Linked DNA regions of Homo sapiens: all the other regions are linked to region 3. The links are contacts of gene promoters, found by promoter capture Hi-C in blood cells and fetal thymus (Javierre and others, 2016). All regions are on one chromosome and are shown on one strand. The core of a region is centred on a gene start or on the middle of the fragment in contact, and the rest is flanking DNA. Distances in the headings are between cores, read along the strand shown.

The links. The method cuts DNA at HindIII sites, captures the fragments that hold promoters and counts their contacts. A CHiCAGO score of 5 or more calls a contact.
Region 1: the fragment with the promoter of TECPR1 here is called in contact with a fragment that was not itself captured in region 3 in 9 of 17 cell types (fetal thymus, naive CD4 T cells, monocytes and 6 more); the score reaches 14.0 in fetal thymus.
Region 2: a contact is called between the fragment with the promoter of BHLHA15 here and a fragment that was not itself captured in region 3, in 3 of 17 cell types (total B cells, naive B cells and fetal thymus). The highest score is 9.4, in total B cells.
Region 4: a contact is called between the fragment with the promoter of TMEM130 here and a fragment that was not itself captured in region 3, in 7 of 17 cell types (activated CD4 T cells, naive B cells, naive CD8 T cells and 4 more). The highest score is 7.9, in activated CD4 T cells.

The regions. Positions count from the first base shown.
Region 1 is chr7:98,250,599-98,253,768 of GRCh38, forward strand. TECPR1 (tectonin beta-propeller repeat containing 1) reads right to left here and starts at 1,634. Exons shown (of 26, transcript NM_015395.3): 1 at 1,528-1,634; 2 at 796-950. It overlaps LOC124901706 (a long non-coding RNA gene), which reads left to right and starts at 1,761. Exons shown (of 2, transcript XR_007060448.1): 1 at 1,761-1,930; 2 at 2,286-3,170. RefSeq lists an enhancer at 1,281-2,024 and silencers at 1,341-1,730, 1,821-1,920. The HindIII fragment of the contact is 5,193 bases long and covers 1-2,064 here.
Region 2 is chr7:98,210,178-98,213,271 of GRCh38, forward strand. It overlaps BHLHA15 (basic helix-loop-helix family member a15), which reads left to right and starts at 1,262. Exons shown (of 2, transcript NM_177455.4): 1 at 1,262-1,321; 2 at 2,079-3,094. The coding sequence starts at 2,133. The coding sequence ends at 2,702. RefSeq lists a silencer at 1,134-1,323. The HindIII fragment of the contact is 21,052 bases long and covers 1-3,094 here.
Region 3 is chr7:97,116,295-97,119,486 of GRCh38, forward strand. SDHAF3 (succinate dehydrogenase complex assembly factor 3) reads left to right here and starts at 1,404. Exons shown (of 2, transcript NM_020186.3): 1 at 1,404-1,603. The coding sequence starts at 1,430. RefSeq lists enhancers at 1,062-1,141, 1,492-1,581. The HindIII fragment of the contact is 1,525 bases long and covers 1,045-2,569 here.
Region 4 is chr7:98,868,465-98,871,745 of GRCh38, forward strand. TMEM130 (transmembrane protein 130) reads right to left here and starts at 1,550. Exons shown (of 8, transcript NM_152913.3): 1 at 1,313-1,550. The coding sequence starts at 1,397. RefSeq lists enhancers at 448-1,034, 1,035-1,620. The HindIII fragment of the contact is 4,583 bases long and covers 1-3,281 here.

The DNA.
Region 1 (3,170 bases), core at 384-2,883, 1.1 Mb after region 3:
CTGCACTCCAGCCTGGGCAGCAGAGCGAGACCCTGTCTCAAAAAGGAAAACAAACAACAACAACAACAACAACAAAACAAAGATAGCTCAGAATTCACTGGATAAGCAAGCAGTTTAGCTAGACTCAGTCTGCAGGTTGAGCTCAATGAAAGGAGATTTTGACTTTCCTTCAAATAAATGACTAAGCACTAATTTCCTCATAGACATCATTGAATCTTCTGGGCAGTTAATGGGAGAAGACTCTGCTACAGTGAAAGGGAGGGGTGGGGGGTTGCTGTATTTACAAACTCCCTTCAGAGTAGAGACCCAGGCACCTGTCGTCACTTCCTAGCTACAGTTGACATCCGGTAACCATCCTTGGTCAGCCACACTTTCTTTCTGCCTCTGCCAAGAGGCTCCCCCTAGCTCCTCATGGGCCACTTTCTGGCTGTGAGCTGATCAGGCAACTTACACAGGGTCACTGGGTCAGAGGACTCTTGAAAGGGGGGTTGGAACATGAAGCCCCATGATTCAGGGATCCTGGGACTTGTTTGTTTTGTAGGGTTAGAGGGATGGAGGAAAATCTTCCAAATCAGCAGCCTCGAATTCACCAAGAATTTCTACAAGATGAATTTGAGTTGAACCTTCAGTCTTTCCACGAAGAAGGTCTGCTCGCCACCCTCAAAGCCATCTGCCTTTCTGTCTCAGTTTATTCACAGATCCTTTCAGAGACCAAAAAAAGCACCCAAGAGAGGCGGGGACAGAGATGTGGTAGAGGAAAAGACACAGTACAAAGAACGCTCCGCAAGCACTTACTTCCTCTGAGCCTTAGGAGTCCTACCTAAAAGGTTTCTTGCTTGTTTTTCTATTACACTGTCACTCCCATCCGGTATGCAAACAGTCGGCAATGCCTACTACAGTAGCTCGCTGGCTGCCAGGTGCAGGGGCTGTTCAAAAGCGACATCAGGGTCCTAAAAGGTGGGAAAAAGCAGCAGAACTTGCATGGTAGTTGATTCTTTCCTGAAGAATAGGGTCCGCCCAGCCCCACCGGGCAGGAGGTGTCCTGAGTCAGCCTGGCGTTCAGCCCAGTGCTGTGCACTTGGGTGACAGGTGGGGCCCCTGCACTGCCACCAGTAGCATATGTCGGAGCTCTGGGCCCTGACCATCTGCCAAAGCTAATCTTACGACAAGCAGATTTGCTCCCATCAATACCCAGGGAGAGGGATAGGCAGGCCCCTTGCTGCGTGATTCTCGAAAACAACCAGGATCCCGCGATCCGCTTCTCCTATGGCTCCAGTCCAAAGGCTGGAATGGGGGCGTCACCTGCACCAGGCAACTTCGCTAGCCTGTGGGCGTTCCAGGGCAGGGGACGGGGGCGGCACCTTCCAGGTGTGCAGGCGAGATGACAAGTGCGGTCCCTCCTTCCTCCCTCCCCGCGAGCAAACAGCCTGGGGGTGGTGGGGAAGGCGGCGTGCCCAGCCCTTCATCGCCCCATTCTTTCCCACGGCCCTGGCCGCCGCTGCAGCTGGGGCGCCACTCTGCACTCACCTGGGCCCGCGCCGGGCGGGGCGAAGTCGCGGTGGTAGGTCCTCGGCGTCCGGGAGGAGCGGACCGGCCCTCCCGGGGACCGGGCAAGAGGGTGGGCCGGAAGCGGCATCAGGCCCCGTGCCCATTGGCCAGCCTCGCCAGGACGCTGCGACCTGGGACGTGCGATTGGCTGCGGTGCGCCGCGTCGGTGCTGGCTTCGAGGTCGCGCGCCCGCCCACTTCCGGGGTCGCGCCAGGTCAGGAGTCCAGAGTCGGCTGAAGCGAGTTGCCGCGTTCTCTCTGGCGGCGCGACACCGGCCCGTGGACCGCCCGGCCGCCCTCCAGGACCCGGTCTGCAGGAGCGGAGAGGGCGGTGTGGACACCGCCTGCAGGCGAGGAGAAGGGGTGGCGGAGAGGGTACCTGGGTGCGTGGCTGTGCGGCGTCAGGAGGAGCAGGGTGTGGGCGCCCGGCCTGGGGCGTGGAGAGGACGCAGGGAACAGGTGTCTTCCTGGTATCCATCGAACTGAAACGTAGCCCTTGAGCACACACTACACTTAAAGCTTTACTCTTTCGAGGAGGAGTCCTGGAAGCATATGTGATTTTGTGACTATAGCATGGTGTGGTGTCAGTAACAGGCCCTGGATTGCTCAAACTCTATTGTCAGTGACAAAACCCAGTGTAAGCTGGCCTAATATATTAATAGTAATATGCGAGTCCTCCCGGGGTGGCGGGCACTGACGTAAGTGCTTTACTTGGGTCTTCTCATTTCATCCTCCCAGCAACCCAAAGAGCTGGCGGCGTCATTCCCATTTTACAAATGCGAACACGGGCTCAGAGATGGAGCGACTCACGTTGTAAGCGATGGAACTGGGATTTGAAAACACTGTATCCCGCCTGGCAGAAAACTGGCAAGGTTAGGATGGAGAAAGGAGAAAAAAGAAAGATGTCGGCCAGGTGCGGCGGTTCATACCTGTAATCCCAGCACTTTGGGAGGCCAAGGCGGGCGGATCACTTGAGGTCAGGGGTTTGAGACCAGCCTGGCCAAGATGGTGAAACCCCGTCTCTAGTAAAAATGCAAAATTAGCCAGGGGTGGTGGCGCATGCCTGTAATCTCAGCTACTCGGGAGACTGAGGCAGGAAAATCGCTTGAACTGGGGAGGTGGAGGTTGCAGTGAGCTGAGATCGTGCCACTGTGCCACCGCACTACAGCCTGGGCGACAAGAGCAAAACTCCTTCTCAAAAAAGAAAAAAAAGGGCATCTGATGGAAGGCTAGATACTACCCGACATTGAGCTAAACCAATGTCACCTGGTTGGACCTAGGGACCTATTCCTGCTCCCCCTCTAGTTCTGTCTCATTTCTGGGGTTGCACACAGGCTTTTCCTGGGCCTTCATGTTTGGGGAAGCCCCACACAGGCCAGCTCCAGTGGAAGAAAACGCCCCCAGAAGCCTCTTGTTCACCCCGGATGGCTCTGTGGAGTCCTGTGTCTGACCCTGACTTTAGCTTGGGCCTGAGGGACTGGCATTTGTGGACTTGGTCTGGAGATGTGGGCAGAGCCCCCCTCAAGCATAAGGGCTCAGCCAGGCACAGGGGGTGGCTCCTCAGAGGAAGATCAGGGTGCTATTAGCAGAAGGACGATGAGTGGGCCGGGCGCAGTGGTTCAC
Region 2 (3,094 bases), core at 12-2,511, 1.1 Mb after region 3:
TGCTTTGGCTGGGCGTGGTGGCTCACGCATGTAATCCCAGCACTTTGGGATGCCGAGGCGGGTGGATCACTTGAGGTCAGGAGTTGAAGACCAGCCTGGCCAACGTGGAGAAACCCCGTCTCTACTAAAAATACAAAAATTAGCTGGGCGTGGTGGTGCATGCCTGTAATCCCAGCTACTCGGGAGGCTGAGGCAGGAGAATCGCTTGAACCCGGGAGGCGGAGGTTGCGGTGAGCCGAGATCATCTCGCTCCATTGCACGCCAGCCTGGGCAGCAAGAGCGAAACTCCGTCTCAAAAACAAACAAACAAACAAAACAGGCGTTCCCAAGGACTGCACACCTGCCCAAGGAGCCCCCCACCCCCACCCCAACTCGGGCTCCGCCCCCAGCCCGTAGGAGCCCCAGGTTCCCCTAAACATCCCGGGCGGCGGGGCGGGGGATCCCCTGGGAGATGCCCGCGTTTTCGCGGAGCGGCTCGTCCCGGAGTGCTCCTGGGACTTGGGATCTGTGTGCTGAGCCTGAATCGGGGCTGCCCCTCCTTCCGGCGGCTCCCAGAGACCTGTTTCCCATTGGCGGAATGGGCCCGGGCCCCGCCACGAGTGGAGAGGCCGGGCAAGGAGGATCGCGGGAGGCATGGATGCGGGGGTGCTGTGTCAGGGGGAGGGTCGGGGAAAGCGGGCGGGGGGAGGCTGTCTCGGGCACGGATATGGGGTAGGCGGGTGGGAAAGGCGCGAGTGGAAATTGAGGGGGAGGATGGGGAAAAGCAGGTTGTGGGGAGGCTGTCGGGGGACGGGAGTAGGGGAGGTGGGGACGCAGGCTGTCTTGGGGGGGCTGTAGCGGGAGAATGGGGAGAGACGAATGGGGGGAAGCTATCTCGGGGCGGTTGGGGGGCTGTCGGGGGAGGATGGGGAGAAGCGTGTGGGGGAGGCTGTCTGGGGGAACGAGGGTCGGGGGCTGTCGGGGGATGGTGGGGAGAGGCGGGCGGGGGTGGCTGTCTTGGGGGACGAGGGTGGGGGGCAGTAGGGGGAGGATGGGGAGAGGCGGGCGGGGGAGGTTTTCTATCTTGGGGGCGGGGCGGAAGCTGGGGGCGGGGCTGCGCGGCCACCTGGTCCGGGAGCCCCAGGCGCCGGCCTCCCGCCCGCCCGCCCGCAGGTGCCGCCACTGCTGCCCAGCGCCCGCCGGGACACCCGGACCCCGGCCCCGCCCCGGCCCCGCCCCGAGGGCTCATTTGCATGCGTCCGCGGCCCCTCCCGGGGCGGCTAAAGCGACGTGTCCTTGTCCCCCGTGGGCAGCCTCGGCGCGTGTGGCCGCGGATCCCCAGGTAACCCGGGAGCTGGGAACTCGGGTGGGGCCGCGGGGAGGGGACCCAGGGGCAGGACCTGGCGGTGGGGTTGTGGGGGTTGTGGGGGCTGTGGGGAAACCCGGGTGGGGGACTTCTGGTCTGTCTGGAGGCTCCACGGGGCCCATCCACGTGGTGGGATTGGGGGCTGCCGCCAGGCCCTGGCCATTGCCGACCTCTGACCTCCACGGCTGCCCCATGTCCGCAGCGGTTCTGGCCCCAGTGCTGTCCCATGTCCGCAGCGGTTCTGGCCCCAGTGCTGTCCCTGCACGTGTCACGTCCAGCGGGGCAGGACAGTGAGAGCCTGGTGGCTGGAGTCACTGCCCGCCCACGGGATGAAGTCAGTGCCGCCTCCGGCAGAGGCGCCCCCTAAGCTAGGGTGGGGGACGCATTCTAGGCAAAGTGTCAAAGGTCACCGAGCTCAGGAGGCACTCTGGGGGCAGTGAGGGGCATGAGCCAGAGGAAGATCTAGGGGTCAGGATGAGTCATCCTGGGGGAAGGGGGACGCAGGGACAGGGACAGATTCCAGAGGTCTGTTTGAGGTAAAGCAAGGGCGTGGGTGTGTGTGGGGTCAGCCCAGGGCTAAGCGTGTGAACAGAAGGACCTCCAGTCGCAGAGCGCCAACCCCTGCCCCTGGTACCATTGCTGTCAGCAAGGAGGAGGCTGCCAGGGACGGCACCCCAGCGGGTCCCCTGCCCATGTGGGGTGACCACAGAGTGTCCTGTGTTCTGGATTTCAGCTCCAAGGGCCTCACCTTCCTGCCGCCACCTCCTAGGACAGCCAGTCCAGGGCCATGAAGACCAAGAACCGGCCCCCACGGCGCCGGGCCCCGGTGCAGGACACAGAGGCCACCCCCGGGGAGGGGACGCCCGACGGGTCCCTGCCGAACCCGGGGCCAGAGCCGGCCAAGGGTCTGCGGAGCCGGCCGGCCCGGGCCGCAGCAAGGGCTCCGGGCGAGGGCAGGCGCAGGCGGCCAGGACCCTCCGGGCCCGGTGGCCGTCGTGACAGCAGCATCCAGCGGCGGCTGGAGAGCAACGAGAGGGAGCGGCAGCGGATGCACAAGCTAAATAACGCCTTCCAGGCCCTGCGTGAAGTCATCCCCCACGTGCGCGCGGACAAGAAGCTCTCCAAGATCGAGACGCTCACGCTGGCCAAGAACTACATCAAATCGCTGACGGCCACCATCCTGACCATGTCCAGCAGCCGCCTCCCAGGCCTGGAGGGGCCGGGCCCCAAGCTCTACCAGCACTACCAGCAGCAGCAGCAGGTGGCTGGGGGTGCGTTGGGGGCCACGGAGGCCCAGCCCCAGGGCCACCTGCAGAGGTACTCCACGCAGATCCACAGCTTCCGAGAGGGCACCTAGCGCCCAGTCCTGGGTGGGGGTGGCGGTGGCCGCAGCTGCCTGGCCTGCTCCTCCCAGCCCCAGTCCCTCCAAGCCACGAGCCCCAGATGGGCGGTGACACCCCACAAGGACACGGCCTCAGCGGTTCCATTTTCCCCCGAACATTCAGCCACTTCCCTGGAGCAATTTTTCCTGCCCCGCTGGGGACCAGCGAGTGGCCTAGTTGCGGCTGTGGCCCTGGACAGCGGCGTGAGGCCCAAACCTCTAGGTAGGGCCCAGTTGGATCCTGATTTTTCATTGAGCCAGGCAGTCTCAGCCCGAGTTGAAAGGCCTCCTTAGCCTTGGAACTAACGTCTCTTCACCCTGACTTCTGGGCAAGGGGAGATCCCAGGAAAAGGTTTACCTGCAGGTTT
Region 3 (3,192 bases), core at 557-3,056:
ATTTACAGTTTAGATTGTTAAAAGAAAAACTTTAAACAAGTTAAATCTAATAAAGTTTATTTGCACGAGCGCACGTGCACACACACACACGATTTATGAGGCATTCATCAGGCAGCAGCACTTAACAGGGAGAGGTTCAGAGAGCTCTACCCAGCACTGTGGGCAGGCAGTATTTATAGACAGAAAAAGGAAGTGCCCCACAGAAACAGCTTGATTGCTTACAGTTGGGCTAGTCTTATTTGGGCAGGACATTATGACGTATTTGCCTTATATGCACATAGTCTGATCAGTTGGCAGCCTGTGATTGGCTGAAGCTCAGCTACTTGTCACAAGAATATACTCTCAGTTGCAGTTAATTTACATACTAAGTTAGGTTGCAGTTCCCTACATAGCAACTCAGAGTAGGGAGGAAATTTTAGGCCAAATTTAATTTAAATTATGTTGGAGCATGACCAAAGTTGGTCATGACCAGAAGCTGAACACAGATATGGAAGCTAACACAATATCCAGTGGAGAGAGATTGTGGTAGAGTACATGGGGCGAAATGGTTGATTTCTGCATTTTTGTTGGTGACGCCATCAGGATTTGCTGAAGAACCAAACGTGTGACAGGAAAGGACAACACAAGGAGCTGCCAGCTTTGGAAACCAGTTCTACTCTCAGTATTACCTTCGCAAAAGATAGAGCTTTGTAAATTTCTAGATTCCTCGTTCTTATTATCCTAGACTATTTAACCAGAATCTCCAGGGTCGTGGTCCTGGAAACAATACGTTTAAAACTCTTCCCAAGGATCCTTCAGCAGCCAACTTGACTTTGGCTAAGGAGTCCGCCAGCTCTGGGCTCACTTGGGTTGTTTGCAAGGAAGAGCCCATGCCCAGAGTATAAATTGGGAGAACAGCGCTGTGCAAAGAGCGTGGGTTGGTGAGCTAGTGGATGGCGAGATTAATCTCACTCTGATCCCTAAAGCAGGGTGCAGTAATACTCTAAATGCCTCAAATGGGTTGGGAACCATGGAAGGAATCCCGGAGGAGCCCGATCTTAACGAAGCTTTTCTCAGGCCTTTGGTAGGAGGACAGAAACGAAGTTGAATGAAAAAGACAGTGGAGTGGGACTGAGAAATGACAACGGCCCACCACAGACCTCTCTCTTTCAAGGCCTGTGTCGTCAGGACGCAGGCCAGAAGAAGCCACGACGAGGCGCAGGCGCGACTCCACGAGGGCCACGCCCCTCCTAGAGAAGGACCGACCCGTTTTCCGCCCGCAGCGGAGCTTGGGTTTCCGGGAGGACCTGATTGTGCAAGGGACCAAACCGGATAGAGGTCGCGCGCCCTCTTTCGTCTGCCTTCCGGTTCACTAATACGCAAGTTCGCAGAAGTGCGGGAACGCGCCGTCCCTCTGCGCAGGCGCAGTCGGCGGTCGGCGTGGGGCGCTATGCCGGGGCGGCACGTTTCTCGAGTCCGGGCATTGTACAAGCGCGTCTTGCAGCTGCACCGTGTTCTGCCCCCGGACCTCAAATCCCTGGGCGACCAGTACGTGAAAGACGAATTTAGGAGACATAAGACCGTTGGTTCTGACGAGGCACAGCGTTTCTTGCAAGAATGGGAGGCAAGTGACGCTCCCTTCTCTTTGCCCAAGACCTTTGGGGTTCCTCGGTGTCCAGGTTTCTAGTTCCAGTCCCCCATGCGGGGTTAAACAGAGCAGCAACCTGTTCTGTTTGAAATAGCGTAATGCTGTTCAGGTAACACTTTCCAAAGTTTCTCCCACGGGTTTCTCACTAGAGCAGATCCTGTTACTTCAGCGTCCCCAATTCAGTTCAACTTTTGAGCTCCTGCAGATGCCAGGTGCTCAAAGGGTGAGGGTAGGAGGTCACAAAAATGAGCAAGTCGTCGTTAAGTGCTCAAAAACCTCAGGAGCTTTTTGTCCTTTTAAGTGCCTTTGCACCTAGTAAGCGCCCATTAATAAATTAATGGTTCTCTTATTAGTTTTCAAATTTAAAGGCTTATTTCCGTAATTTATTATTTAATCTCAGCGCTTTTGGTTGGGTTTAAATAATTTTCTCACTTGGCTGATACAGAAATCAGGTAACATGAAAAAGATTACAAAAGGTTGGAGATTACAAACTGTGAAGGAGAAAAATGCTGGTGGCAGTTAAGTCAGGCGAAAGTTGTTTCCTCCGGTCTCAAGTCATTGTTACTTCGCCCTGCACCATTGCGCTAAATATTAAACAGACACATGCATTAGCAATAAGTCGTTTGACTTTTTTTTTTTTTTTTTGAGTAAAGGAAAAAAGATATTCAGAGTATTTCGTGGGGCTCGGGGCCCTGCAGGATTGCCCCTAGTTTTCATTTGCAAATATAAATAAATGAATGGAATTAGAGATTGGAATGACAGCTCAGATATTTGAAAGCATGAGTTGGAGCTGATATGAAAATAGAGGTAAGCGGTTCTTCGGCCTAAATAGTTGAAGGGGAGATGACTGAAGTCGGCTTTGTAAAAAAAAATCAAAAGAATGGTTAGGGTGAACACAAACTTTGCACTGACTTCCAGAATTCTTTTTTGTATAATTATTGAAGCTTTTAAGAGCGACATTTAGAACAATCGGGAAATTTAGAACTTTCTTGAAAATCATGGTGTATTTGATGTAATTCGCTTGCCTGAAGCAGGGAAGTTGAAGCTTTTCAGACACAGAGCACTTTATTTTAATAAGGTAATTTGGTTTTGGAGCCTGAAGAACTGGATTCAGATTCAGTCTCTGACATTTTAAGTGTCAGATCACATAATTTTTCTAGTCTTATTTTCTCATCTATAAAATAATAAGTGTTTATGCATCTCAAAATTTACGTATGTAAATGTATTTACAAGCACTTGTGTATTGCTAATTGTTATGAAGCTATAAGATACTGTATTAAAGTATTTTACATCTTTTATGGTAGGTCATTTTGTGGCCGTACAGGAAGGAGAGTAGCTCTCTGTTGGGAGGAAATAAGGTTATTTTAAGAAGTCTTAAAATGTAAGCACATGGAAGCCTCTTTGGGAAAAAGTAGGAAAGAGTAGCAACTCAGAAAAAATTGATAATAGGTTGTAGGAGAGAGAGAGGGTATAAAAAAGAACTGCATAAATAAAAAATGTGTTAGTTGACCTAGTAGGCTTGGTAACTGGGATTGAGCTTTTTAAAACTTGGAATAATTTTAGAC
Region 4 (3,281 bases), core at 300-2,799, 1.8 Mb after region 3:
CCAGTCCTTTCACACAGAATATGCAGACTACCCAAAACACTTCCAAAGAGTACCTCTAAAGTCTGGATAACACAACCCAGAATTAATTAATAGTCCAGTACATGGACTTCTGACTTACAAATCCCTGATTCATGGACTCCAGAAAGGGGAAGGGTAGAAAAGTCTCCCCGACGGGTGAGGGAGAAGATGTTTCCCAACTCCACTCTTAGCCACTGTGATTTTGACCACATCAAGGGTGCAATTGGCTAGAATGGGAACCACACATGATTTCCAAATAATTAATTCACTTTTGTTATTATTTTCTTTTTCTTTTGCAATTTAGGACACATTGAAAATCTCTGACACAAATCAACCTGATGGACAAGAGACCCCTTTCCTGTATTTCCAGGAGGAAATAGGTAATCTTGTCCAAGTGCAATTCCCATAAAATTCGTCTAATTCATCCCTGAGTTGCAGGTTTTCTTTGACCTCATGGTTTTTCTTTCACAAATTTTCATTAGATCCCTTGCTCTCTCTCTCCACCGCTCTTTTATGAGGGGGGAGGGGGTGAAAAGTGGTGGATAGTATTCAACCTTCTTAGCTGCCCACGTCCCATCTGTCCCTCGAATAGTCTTAAATCTGGGTCCTTTTATGGTTCCCAAAATGTGGCAGAGAGGTGGGTGCTGGCTTTCTGGCGGTGGGGAAGTGGGGGCAGTAGACACACAACCCTGCTTCCCCCACTCCCCCACCCACACACACACCCCAGGAACCTGTCAGCTCCGGGTCCATTTTGGAAATCACCACCAGAGAGGAAATGGCAGCCTGGCCTCCTGGGCTCTAAATTCGCATCTCCCCAAAGCCAGCACCAACACGGTGGGAAACCCCTCTAGATGAGGCGACATTTTAAGGCAAAAACGTTGCCCATCCCGTGCTCCCTGGGGGACTGGGGAATTGTGGCGCGATGACGGACCCTGGCGCATCCCCGCCTCCCTGCCTCGTCCTCCCCTCCCTTAGCGGGTGCATGGTCCCCAGGCATCGACGGATGCGCCGGCCACCCCCGCGCGGTTTCCAGGGCAGGGCCAGCCTGGGGGGGTGGAAGCAGGAATCCAGGGGGTGCGGGGAGCCCCCTCCAGTGCCCAGGCGACTTTGGGGAACAAGGATGAAAGGAGAGGGGAAAGGGCGCTGCAGTGGCCTCAGCCGAGGAGGGAGATGCGCGCAGGGCGCACGGTGCCACCTCCGCAATCCCTGCTCCCGGGCCCACTCGCCCGCTGAGACGGTTCCAGGCCCCGGGCGGGCTGCGGCTGCAGGGAGGCCGGATTGCCCAGCGCCTTACCTGCGGCCACCCCTGCCGGGGCCCAGGGCAGGAGGCAGGCAAGCCAGAGGATGCGGCCGAGGCGCGACCACACTGCCTGGGCCATTGCGGGGCCCGGAGCGGGAGAAGCGTGGGGCGGACGCGGAGGGAATGCAGCTGGAGCTCGAGAACTGCGGCGGTCGCTCCTCCGGGCGCGCAGCGCGGGCGGTGCGGGGAGGTGCGGGCGCCGTGCTCGCTCGTCCTCGCCGGGGGACGCTCTGTCGCTGCGCGCCGCCGCCGCCGCCCACAGCCCGCTGCGCGACCCCGGCCCACGTCAGCCGCGCCGCGCGCCCTCCTCCTCCTCCCGCCGCCCCTTGCTCCCGCGTCCCTCTCCACGGCCGCGTCCTCCCTCTCCGGGTCTCTTCCCACGGCCGCGCCCCCTGCCCTCCTGGAGTCCACGATCGCCCCTCCCAGCTTGCTTCCCCTCTAGGGGTTCCAGAGCTCCCTTCCTGCGCCCTGGCTCCTCCCCGCATCCCTCCCCACCCCAAATCCACCCCCGGCCGCATCCTTCCCCTCCACTACCCGAAACCACGCCCCCCGCACCCGCATTTTTCCCTTCCCCCGAGCCCCTCCCCGCCCTGGATCCGATGCCGCCGGCTCTGACTCAGCGTCCCCAGGGGCGTGCGCTGCGCTGCAAGCCGCCTGCAGGTCCCTTGGGGCTCTCCTCCAGGTGCCTTCTCTCTGCACGCTCGTGGCTCCGAGATGCTACTCCTCATTCAAGAACTGTTGAGAGCTTAAGGTGCGCCAGGCGTTGGGCGAAAGGCCTCGAAATTCCTCTTGCTGCTGCTGCTGCTGCTGCTTCCTCTTTTCTTTTTTTTTTTTTTTTAATCTTGAGACAGAGTCTCGCTCTGTCCCAGAATGGCGCGATCTCGGCTCACTGCAACCTCCGCCTCCCGGGTTCAAGCGATTCTCCTGCCTCAGCCTCCCTAGTAAGATGGGATTACAGGTGCCCGCCACCAGGCCTGGCTAATTTTTGTATTTTTAGTAGAGACGGGGTTTCACCATGTTGGCCAGGTTGGTCTCAAACTCCTGGCCTCAAGTGATCCTCTCGCCTCAGCCTCCCAAAATGTTGGGATTACAGGTGTAAGCCACTGTGCCCAGCCTCTTGCCCCTTCTTGATAGAGGGGCCTGAGCACCCGGCCCCTGCCGTGGGCTTGATGTCATCCCCCGGTTTACCCTCTCACAGCTGCTGTTAAGATGGGGCTCCTGCTCGTATCTGGGCCCAGGGCAACTTCTTTGTCACTGAGGGCCTTGTGGGAGTCAGGCTACTGCGGTGAGGGGTGACCAGCCTACACAGTTACTGCCATTTGCCTTAGAGGAGCAGGGCTGGGCTCTCCTAGAAGCTGGAGGGGCCTGGCTGGCCTTAAACGCTGGAAGCCCGGTGGGTTCTGGTCCCAGCTATGCTTCCGCTTTGCTACGGCTACCTGGGCGAGGGATCCTCCCACACAGTGAGGGCCTTTGACCTCCTCTCTGGCCCGTGGAGCACGGATGGACCATCACTGCACCACCCAGTGCATTGACATCAAGGCGTCTAAAGCAGGGGTCTCCAAGCCCCTGGCCGCCAGTACCAGTCCATAGCCTGTTAGGAACTGGCTGCACAGCAGGAGGTGAGCAGGGCCTGTGAGCCACGCTGAGCTCCACCTCCTGGCAGATCAGCAGGGCATTAGATTCTCATAGGAGCGCAAACCCTACTGTGAACTGCTCACGTGAGGGATCAAGGTTGCGTGCTCCTTATGAGAATCTAATGCCTGATGTTCTGTCACTGTTTCCCATCATCCCCAGATGGGACCATCTAGTTGCAAGAAAGCAAGCTCAGGGCTCCCACTGATTCTACATGATGGTGAGTATGTAATCATAATAGAAATAAAGTATACAATAAAAGTAATGCGCTTGAATCATCCCGAAACCATCCCTCCAACCCCTCATTCGTGGAAACATTGTCTTTGGTGCC